Linked DNA regions of Homo sapiens: region 1 is linked to region 2. The links are contacts of gene promoters, found by promoter capture Hi-C in human tissues and cell types (Jung and others, 2019). All regions are on one chromosome and are shown on one strand. The core of a region is centred on a gene start or on the middle of the fragment in contact, and the rest is flanking DNA. Distances in the headings are between cores, read along the strand shown.

Region 1 (4,685 bases), core at 1,570-4,069, 45 kb after region 2:
AGAAATTAAAAAATATATAATAAAAAAACTTTAAGCATGCAGCAAAGATGAAATAATTTTGTAACGAACACCCACCTAGATTCTCTCAGTGACATTATTGCTCTATCCATCTATCATCCTTCCTCCATCTATCATTCCGTCCTCATTTTTAAAATGTATTTCAAAGTAAATGACAGACATCTATCCACTCTCCCTAAATATTTCATCATGCATATTATCAACTAGAGTTCAATATTTGGTTATAGTTTTGTTTTCCTTTTTTTTTTCTTTGAGACAGAGTCTCTCTCTGTCACCCAGGATGGAGTGCAGTGGCGCAATCACAGCTTACTGCAACTCCACCTCCCAGGTTCAAGAGATTCTCCAGCCTCAGCCTCCCAAATAGCTGGGAGCTGGGATTACAGGCACCTGACACCACGCCTGGCTAATTTTTTTGTATTTTTAGTAGAGACAGAGTTTCATCATGTTGGCCAGGCTGGTCCCAAACTCCTGACCTCAGGTGATCCTCCCGCCTTGGTCTCCTAAAGTGCTGGGATTACAGGCCTGAGCCACTGCGCCCAGCCTCTTTTCCTTTCAATAAAAAATTTACATTATAATGAATTGCAAAATGTACATTTGCTTAAGTGTACATTTGCTGAGTTTTAACAATTGCACACACCTGTGGAAATCAAATCCCTATCAAGATATAAAACATTACCATAACTCCAGAAAGTTCTCTTTTGCTCATTTCCTGTCAATCCCTTCCTTATTCCTTTAAGAGGCAATCACTTTTTCTGGTTTTTATCTTCCACCATAGATTAGATTTGCCTATTCTAGATCTTTATAGAAATGGAAGTATGTAGTACAAACTGTTTCATGTTAGGCTTCTTTCGTTCAGCGAAGTGTTTTATTCATGTCACATGTATCAGTAGTTTATTTCTTTTTATTAATGAATAGTGTCCTTTGTATAGATAAAAATAGTGTTTTAGCATTTTCTTACTGATAAACATTTGAGTTGTTTCCAGTTTGGAGTTTTTAGGAATAAAGCTTCCATGGGCTGGATGCAGTGGCTCACACCTGTAATCCCAGCACTTTGGGAGGCCAAGGTGGGTGTATAACTTGAGTTCAGGAGTTGAAACCAGCCCGGCCAACGGATGAAACCCCACCTACTAAAAATACAAAAATTAGCCAGGCGTGGTGGTGCATGCCTGTAATCCCAGCTACTCCAGAGAGTGAGGAAGAAGAATTATTTGAACCCAGAGGGGAAGGTTGCAGTGAGCCAAAATCATGCTGTTGCACGCCAGCCTGGGCGACAAGAACAAAACTTGGTCTTAAAAAAAAAAAAAAAAAGCTTCCATTAACATTCTTATACAATATTTTTTGTGGAAATATATTTTCTTTTCTCTCAGGTAAATACCTAGAGGTGAAAATATTGAGTCAGAGGGTAAGCATATATTTAGTTTTTTTAAGAAACTCCCGGGCCAGGCACGGTGGCTGACACCTGTAATCCCAGCACTTTGGGAGGCCGAGGCAGGTGGATCACGAGGTCAGGAGATGGAGACCATCCTGGCTAACAGGGTGAAAACCCGTCTCTACTAAAAATACAAAAAATTAGCCGGGCATGGTGGCGGGCACCTGTAGTCCCAGCTACTCGGGAGGCTGAGGCAGGAGAATGGCATGAACCCGGGAGGCAGAGCTTGCAGTAAACCGAGATCGTGCTACTGCACTCCAGCCTGGGCACACAGCGAGACTCTGTCTCAAAAAAAAAAAAAGGAAAAAAAAAAAGAAACTCCCAAGCCTTTCCCATCAACAATGTATGACAGTTCCAGTTGCTCCATATCCTCATATTTAGTCTTACCAGTCTTTCTTAAGTTTAGCTGTGGGCCAGGTGTGGTGGCTCATGCTTGTAATCCCAGCACTTCAGGAGGCTGAGGTGGGAGGATTGCCTTGAGCTAAGGAGCTCAAGACTAGCTTGGGCAATATAGTGAGACCTTGTCTCTCTAAAAAATTAGCCCCAGTTACTTGGGGGACTGAGGTGGGAGAATCACTTGAGCCCAAGAGGTTGAGGCTGCAGTGACCCACGATTGTGTCACTGAACTTCAGTCTGGGTGACAGAGCAAGACCCTGTCTCAAAAAAAAAAATTTCAGCCAGCCTATCTCATTGTGGGTTTTTTGTTTGTTTGTTTGTTTGTTTGTTTTTGTAGAGGCGGCGGGGGGGGGTCGGGTCTCCCTATTTTGCCCAGGCTGGTGTCAAACTCCTGGCCTCAAGTGATCCTCCCACCTCAGCCTCCCAAAGTGAGGGGATTACAGATGTGGGCCACCACTCCTGGCCCTCATTGTGATTTTAATTTTCATTTCCCTTGTGTCTTACGATTTTGAGCACAATTTCATGTACTTATTGGCCACATGTATATCTTTTTTTGTGAAGTGTCGGTTCATATTTTTTGTCAATTTTGTTGTAATTGAGTCATTTGTCTTTATTAAGTTGCAGAAATTCTCTTATATCCTGTCTACCAGTTCTTTGTCAGGTATGTTTTACGAATATTTTTTCCCAATTTGTAGCTTGCCTGTTTGTTTTCTTAATGGCATTTCTCAACCCAGGAATCTGGGGTTTGTTTGTTTTTTTTTTTTTTTGGAGACGGAGTCTCGCTCTGTCGCCAGGCTGGAATGCAGTGGCGCGATCTCAGCTCGCTGCAACCTCCGCCTCCCAGGTTCAAGCAATTCTCCTGCCTCAGCCTCCTGAGTAGCTGGGATTACAGGCGCCCGCCACTACACCCAGCTAATTTTTGTATTTTTAGTAGAGACAGGGTTTCACCATGTTGGTCAGGCTGGTCTCGAACCCCTGACCTCGTGATCCACCCGCCTCGGCCTCCCAAAGTGCTGGGATTACAGGTGTGAGCCACCGCGCCCGGCCTGGGTTTTTTTTTTTTTTTTTAAACTTTTTATTGACATATACATAAAGTACCCAAACACAAGTATACAGCTTGGCAAATTCTCACAAACTGAACACACCCATGTACTAGAATTTGGTTTAAGAAACAGCATTTCTGGCAAGGGTAGTGGCACATGCCTATAATCCCAGCTACTTGGGAGGCTAAGACGGGAGGATCACTTGAGCCCCAGAAATTTAGGGCTCCAGTGAGCTCTGACAGAGTGAGCCCTGTCTCTAAAAAAAAATACAGAGCATGGCCGGGCGCGGTGATTCATGCCTGTAATCCCAGCACTTTGGGTGGCTGGGGTGGGAGGATCACGAGGTCGGGAGTTCGAGATCAGCCTGGCCAATGTGGTGAAACCCCGTCTCTACTAAAAACACAAAAGGTATCCAGGCATAGTGGCATGCTCCTGTAATCCCAGCCACTCGAGAGGCTGAGGTAGGAGAATCGCTTGAACCCAGGAGGCGGAGACTGCAGTGAGCCGAGATGTGCCATTGCATTCCAGCCTAGGCGACACAGCAAGACTCTGTCTCAAAAAAAAAAAAAAAACCAGAGCATTTCCAACACACCGTAAGTGCCCCCTCATGCTTCCTTCCAAGTACTATCTCTCCCCAAAGGTGACCATTATCCTGACTTCTAACAGCATAAATTAGTTTTGCTTGTTTTTGTGCTTTACATAAATGGAATAATACCATAACTCCTCTTTCATATCTGGCTTCTTTAGCTCAACATGTTTTTTTAAGATTGATCCACATTGTTGAGTATAGCTGTAGATCATTCATTCTCATTATCACGTAGCATTCCATTATGTAACTACACCACAGCTTATTTATCCATCCTACTGTTGACGGGCATTCAGATTATTTCCTTTGGTTATTATGAAAAGTTTTTATGAATATTCTTAAACACATTCTTGCTAAACATATGTTTACATTCTGTTCGGTATGTACAGTCATGCATTACTTAACAACAGTGATACATTCCAAGAAATTCGATGCTAGGTAATTTTGTCATTGTGCGAACGTGATAGAATGCACTTACGCAAACCTAAGTGGTGCAGCCTACTACACATGCAGGCTATGTGCTACAGCCTATTGCTCCTAGGCTACAAATCTATACCGCACGTTGCTGGACTGAACACTGTAGCCAATTACAATGCAATGATAAGTATTTGTGTATCTAAACATAGAAAAGGTACAGTAAGGCCAGGCACGGCCTGTACTCCTGAGTAGCTGTTGGGATTACACCTGCAATCCCAACACTTTGGGAGGCCAAGGCGGGAGGATTACTTGAGCCCAGGAGTTCAAGACCAGCCTAGGCAACATAGTGAGACCTCATCTCTACAAAAAAAAAAAAAAAAAAATCAAAAAATTAGCTAGGCATGGTGGCGCACACCTGTGGTCCCAGTTACTCTGGAGGCTGAGGTGAGAAGATTGCTTGAGCTTGGGAACTTGAGGCTGCAGTGAGCCTTGATCCCACCACTGCACTCCAGCCTGGTTAACAGAGTGAGATCTTGTCTCAGATAAATTTATTTATTTTAAAAAGGTACAGTAAAACCATGGAGGTACAGTAAAACCATGGTATAAAATATTTTCTTTTTAATTATACACCTGTATAGGGCACTTACTATGAAGGGAGTTTGCAGGACCGGAAGTTGCTCTGGGTGAGTGAGTGAGTGAGTGGTGAGTGACCGTAAAGGCTTAGGGCATGACTGTGCTCTACTCCAGATCATATAAACGCTGTATATTTAGGCTACACTAAATTAATTTTTAAATT
Region 2 (4,419 bases), core at 80-2,579:
TGCCTTGAAGGGAAGGAGACCCAAGCCCCATGATGTGGACTTGCTCCTGGCTCCTACTGTGCACTCTAGGAGCTACACCGAACTGTGCCAGATGCCCACATCCTGTGGGAGTGAAGGAGTCCTGGAGTCCACCATGCTATGTGCTATAGCATCCTCAGCTGGATGCTAGGAGACTAGTGGATGCTAGTGGAATCCCACTGCCAGACCCTGGTTCCTTGTGTCTTCCAGCCCCAGCTGCAGCCTGCTCTGTGGTTTACTTTGCAAACCCACACTTACCTTCAGAAAATGAGAATACTCTCTCCTCCTGACCTCCTGGGACTTTGGTGAGACTCAAGACCTTGTGAAGGCGCTCGAAGAATAGGTTCATCCACTGGTAACACTCAAGATAGGGCATCCCCATGCAAAAAAAAAAAAAAAAAAGGAAACGCAGGTGGAGGTGGATAAAGAGCAGCACAGGGTGGAGACAAAGCAGCCAAAAGGCCTGCATTCGGATCTCAGGGCTCTTGCTGGGAAAACTCAGGGGGACGCTCACTCACTGAGTGCCTATTGAGTGCCAATGTGTCACGTATGTCATCTCATTTTGTCCTCATATGACCCCTCACTTTGTCCATGAGGAACCTGAGGCTTTAAGAGGTTAGGTAACTTGCTCGAGGTTATACAGCAAGTGGGACCCTAGGACCAAAACTTAGGTCCATGAGCTTTAAAACCTGTGCCCTTCCCAGCACAGCACTGAATCTCCAAATCACAGGATTTCATCCTTGTGAGCCCAGCGTCCTGGTCTGCAAAATTGGAGGGGGAAGGGGGACAGGGGGAGGGGGGCAGGGGGAGGGGAAGAGGGGAAGAGGGGCACTATATTGCCTAATAGAGTTGTTAAGAAAATTAAATGAGCTTATGTTGATTAAACACATTATCGGGCTTGGTATCTGGTATATAGTAGGTGCTCAATAAATGCTTTCTGTTTGTTTTTCTTTTTAGGGCAGATCAATGTTAAAAACTCAGGGCTGGCTTTGGAGCCTAGGAGCTCCAAAATGCTTCAAGAAGCCCAAGGGCCTCCCATCGCTCTGGGGTGCGCGGGAGGAGGGGAGAGAAGGGCTGGGAAAGAGGGCTCGGCTCCAGGAAGCGGGTACGCGGGTTCCAGCTGCGCGCCCCTCGCTTCGCCGCCTCCTCCGGGCTCCCCCGACTTCCCGCCCCGCCCCGCCCCGGAGCCGGGTCCGGAGTGCCTGGTGGGCTGATTCCGGAGCGTGGAAGGGAGCACGGAGCACGGAAGCGAGAGGGAGGCGGCGGCGGCGGGAGGCGGGAAGGAGGGGGACCCTCCTCGCTGCTCTCCCAAGTCGGCGCGGAGCCGCCTCGGGCCGGGCCGAGGGCTGCGCGGCGGCGGCGGCGGCGGGGCCCGGCCAGGATGCGGGGCTCCCGGGACCGCGCGGGGCGGGGCGGGCGGCGGCGGCGGGCTGCGGGCGGGAGCTGTCCGCGGTGCTGAAGCGGCGGCTGCTCAGGGACGCGGGGACGAGAGCAGGGGAGCCCTCCTGGGAGTTCCACCGCGACCGCGAGGCGGGGGCGCCGTCGCTCACCGGCCCATGCCGAGCCCCCGAGCCCCGCGGAGGAGGCGGGACCGTCCGCGGCGGGACAGGTAAGGGGCGGTCTGGGGGCGCCGCGGGAGCGCAGAGCTAGGCACGGAGCGGGGAGTGAGCTGGGGAGGGCACGGGAGCCCTCTCGGGGCTAGGGGCTCTGACTCCCTGCTTGGCCGCACCTTGCGCTCCGCCAAGGCTTGCACTTCGTCCCTCCCTACCCCTCATCCTGCAGGCTGGGGGTGCTGGGAGGGGGCTGATGAACTGGGGTCAAGACACCATAACCTCACAACATCAGGCCTTGACCCTGACCTCAGGCAGCTCCTAGACATCCTGCCTACTGACGGCAAGAAATACTGATTAGAGCCTCAGACTCCCTGGTACCCCAGTCCCCACCAAGGTTTTGCGACACTAGCAAAATCTGAGCAGGCTTCACTAAGCTCCCCTCTTCTCGCACCCAAACCTGTTCACCCAGGTGACTGAGGTGGCTGTGGTACCCCCTGCTCTGAGATTTCTCTGCCCTGGAAATGGCTCTTGGGCCAAGGGATTGGCTCTTGGGCCAAGGCCCCTTAGGATGGATTAACCCATTTCTTCAGGGAAGGAAGGAGGTCCTGGAAGATACCTCAATTTTTTTTCCTATGACACTCTTGACGCTCACAGAAGCAGGCAGGATTTGCATCACATCTCTTGGCGCATGAGGGCAAAGAGTCAGGGAACCTGGGTCCTGTTTTCTATTATGTGCTGGTGACCCTAGACAGAGCCTCCATTAGGAGTTCTCTCTCTTTCTGGCAAGAGTGCGCTGAATGAGCTCATTCAGGCCTGCAAAGTGCTTCTAGTTCTTCAGAGCAGAGTTCTCTATGACTGGCAGAATGTAGCGATCAAAATAAAACTGCGTGGAGGAAGAATTGGCCTACCCTTGTGGCTGACCACTTCTTTCTACTGCTTTATCCCCACCCTCCAACCCAACACAACTTCCCTACCCCCAGGGGTAGAAAGAGCACTAGAGTAGGAGTTCCTGGCTGGGTGCTGGCATTTACTGGCTTTAGCTAGTTCCCTAAGCTCTTTCAACCTCATCCTCCTCACCCCTGGAGTGGGGATAAGGTCACCGCTCTGCTCACCTCAGGGAACTGCCTTGGGGCCCAATGAAAAACAATGCACCTGATTGGAGGCTTGCCACCTGTACATCTCCATACCAGTGTGCGCTGCTGTCACTGTTCCCAACCCCTAGCCAGGCCTGCTGTCAGTGACCTGATTATTGTCACCCCTACCCCCTCTTCTCCCAGCATGGCCATGTCTCCCTTTGTCCTTGGCCACCGTGGGGTCCCAGAATCAGTGAAGCCAAACTTATAAACCTTAAGGAGAAAAAAGTGTGCCCTCCCTTCTTCTCCTCTTCCATCATCACCTATAGGAGATAATATAAGGTAAGAGTCTGACTCACCGGTTTTTATTTTTTCTCCCTAAGAACCACAGATCTAGGGAAAGAGCTCCCTGAAGGCAGGAATTGTGTTGTTTTCATCTCTTTGTCCCCCTTCATGACCCCCTCCCCAACAGCACCTGGAAGATAGTAAGGACTCGGTAATCGGGTGTAAAATGAGGGAATGAAATGTTAAAGTGTATCAGAATAAAAGCATTTAACTGGGAGTCAGAAGCCCTGTGTTCTGGTCACAGATCCGCCGCTGTCTCAGGCAGGTCCATTCCCCTCTGGGGGTTCATTTTTCTCATCTGTAAAAGAAGAGAGTTGGGCTAGATGAGTTAAGATTTCAAGCCCTGATATTCTGTAGGGCTTTCTGAGGCTGTCCTAAACCCATAAACCCCTCAATTCTGCTTGAATACAGGATGCCGGCTTTATCAACCTGGTTTGACAACAAAGTTAATGACCTTTTAGTAATGAACTGGATTTTATGAATGGAGTGAAAGTGAGCAATAGGAACCAGAAAAAGCCATTTATATTTCTGATGTTTTCTTAAGAACCCCCTCTCTTATTTCTCTGGGAAAGCCATAAGTGTGACTCAGAATGACTGAACTGAGAGGGGCTCCTGCCTCCAAGCCCAGAGGCCAGGAACCACCACCCCATTATCCCTGCCACCACCACCACCACCACCACCACCATCTCTTGTGAGTAACAAAGGGCCAGGGACCCCACCATTGGCCATCTCCTACCAGGGACCCTGCCTGGCTATGATCTCCCTCCTAGGAAGACCAGAGGAGGGGACAAGCAGGAAATATCCATCCCTACAGAGAATTTATATTTGTGTTACGTGTGTGTGTGTGTGTGTGTGTATATATATATCAATCAAAATGAGTTTCTCTGATAATAATTTCCCTCAACTGTGGCAGGTCCAGCCGATGCTCAGAAAAACCTTAGCTAATTGGCATTTCGGTAGAGCTGAGTAAACCATGCCAGTGACCTCGCCGAATTATTCTGTGAGTGCCCAGCCAGGGTGGGGGACCAGTCCCCCCTCCTCACGTCATCGCTTTCTGGCTCCCAGCTGTTGGTGCAGCACTGGCAAGAATCAGCTCTCTGGAGTTAATGGACAGTCACTAACCCTCATAACAAAGTGACGGCAGCAGCAGCAGCAACAGCAAGCTAGTGAGGTGTTTTCTTTTCTGCAAGGCTGGTCTGCAGAGGAGCTGGCCTGCTACTGGGGTGAGGACAATACACTAGCCTTCCTTCTGCAGCTGTTTGGGTGGACACCCCACTCCCAGAGCTGTCAGGGTGCAGGGCATCTCTGGTCACCCAGGCAGATGACATCTGGCTCCTCTCCTGACCGGGGAAAACTACCCATTGGCTGCTTCCTGTGTTCCCCTCTTGTTCCCTCCTTGCTGAGGCTTTTATTCTGGGCCCTTCTACAAG

The links. The method cuts DNA at HindIII sites, captures the fragments that hold promoters and counts their contacts. A contact is called where the count stands out against the background at its distance.
Region 1: a fragment that was not itself captured here is called in contact with the fragment with the promoter of SYNDIG1L in region 2 in 2 of the 25 tissues and cell types used here (lymphoblastoid cells and mesendoderm cells).

Annotation. Positions count from the first base shown.
Region 1 is chr14:74,379,622-74,384,306 of GRCh38, reverse strand. No RefSeq gene overlaps it. Among named protein-coding and RNA genes, the nearest start is that of VRTN, 33 kb to the right of the region's middle. The HindIII fragment of the contact is 3,288 bases long and covers 1,176-4,463 here.
Region 2 is chr14:74,423,120-74,427,538 of GRCh38, reverse strand. It overlaps SYNDIG1L (synapse differentiation inducing 1 like), which reads left to right and starts at 1,329. Exons shown (of 4, transcript NM_001105579.2): 1 at 1,329-1,627. The HindIII fragment of the contact is 14,133 bases long and covers 1-4,419 here.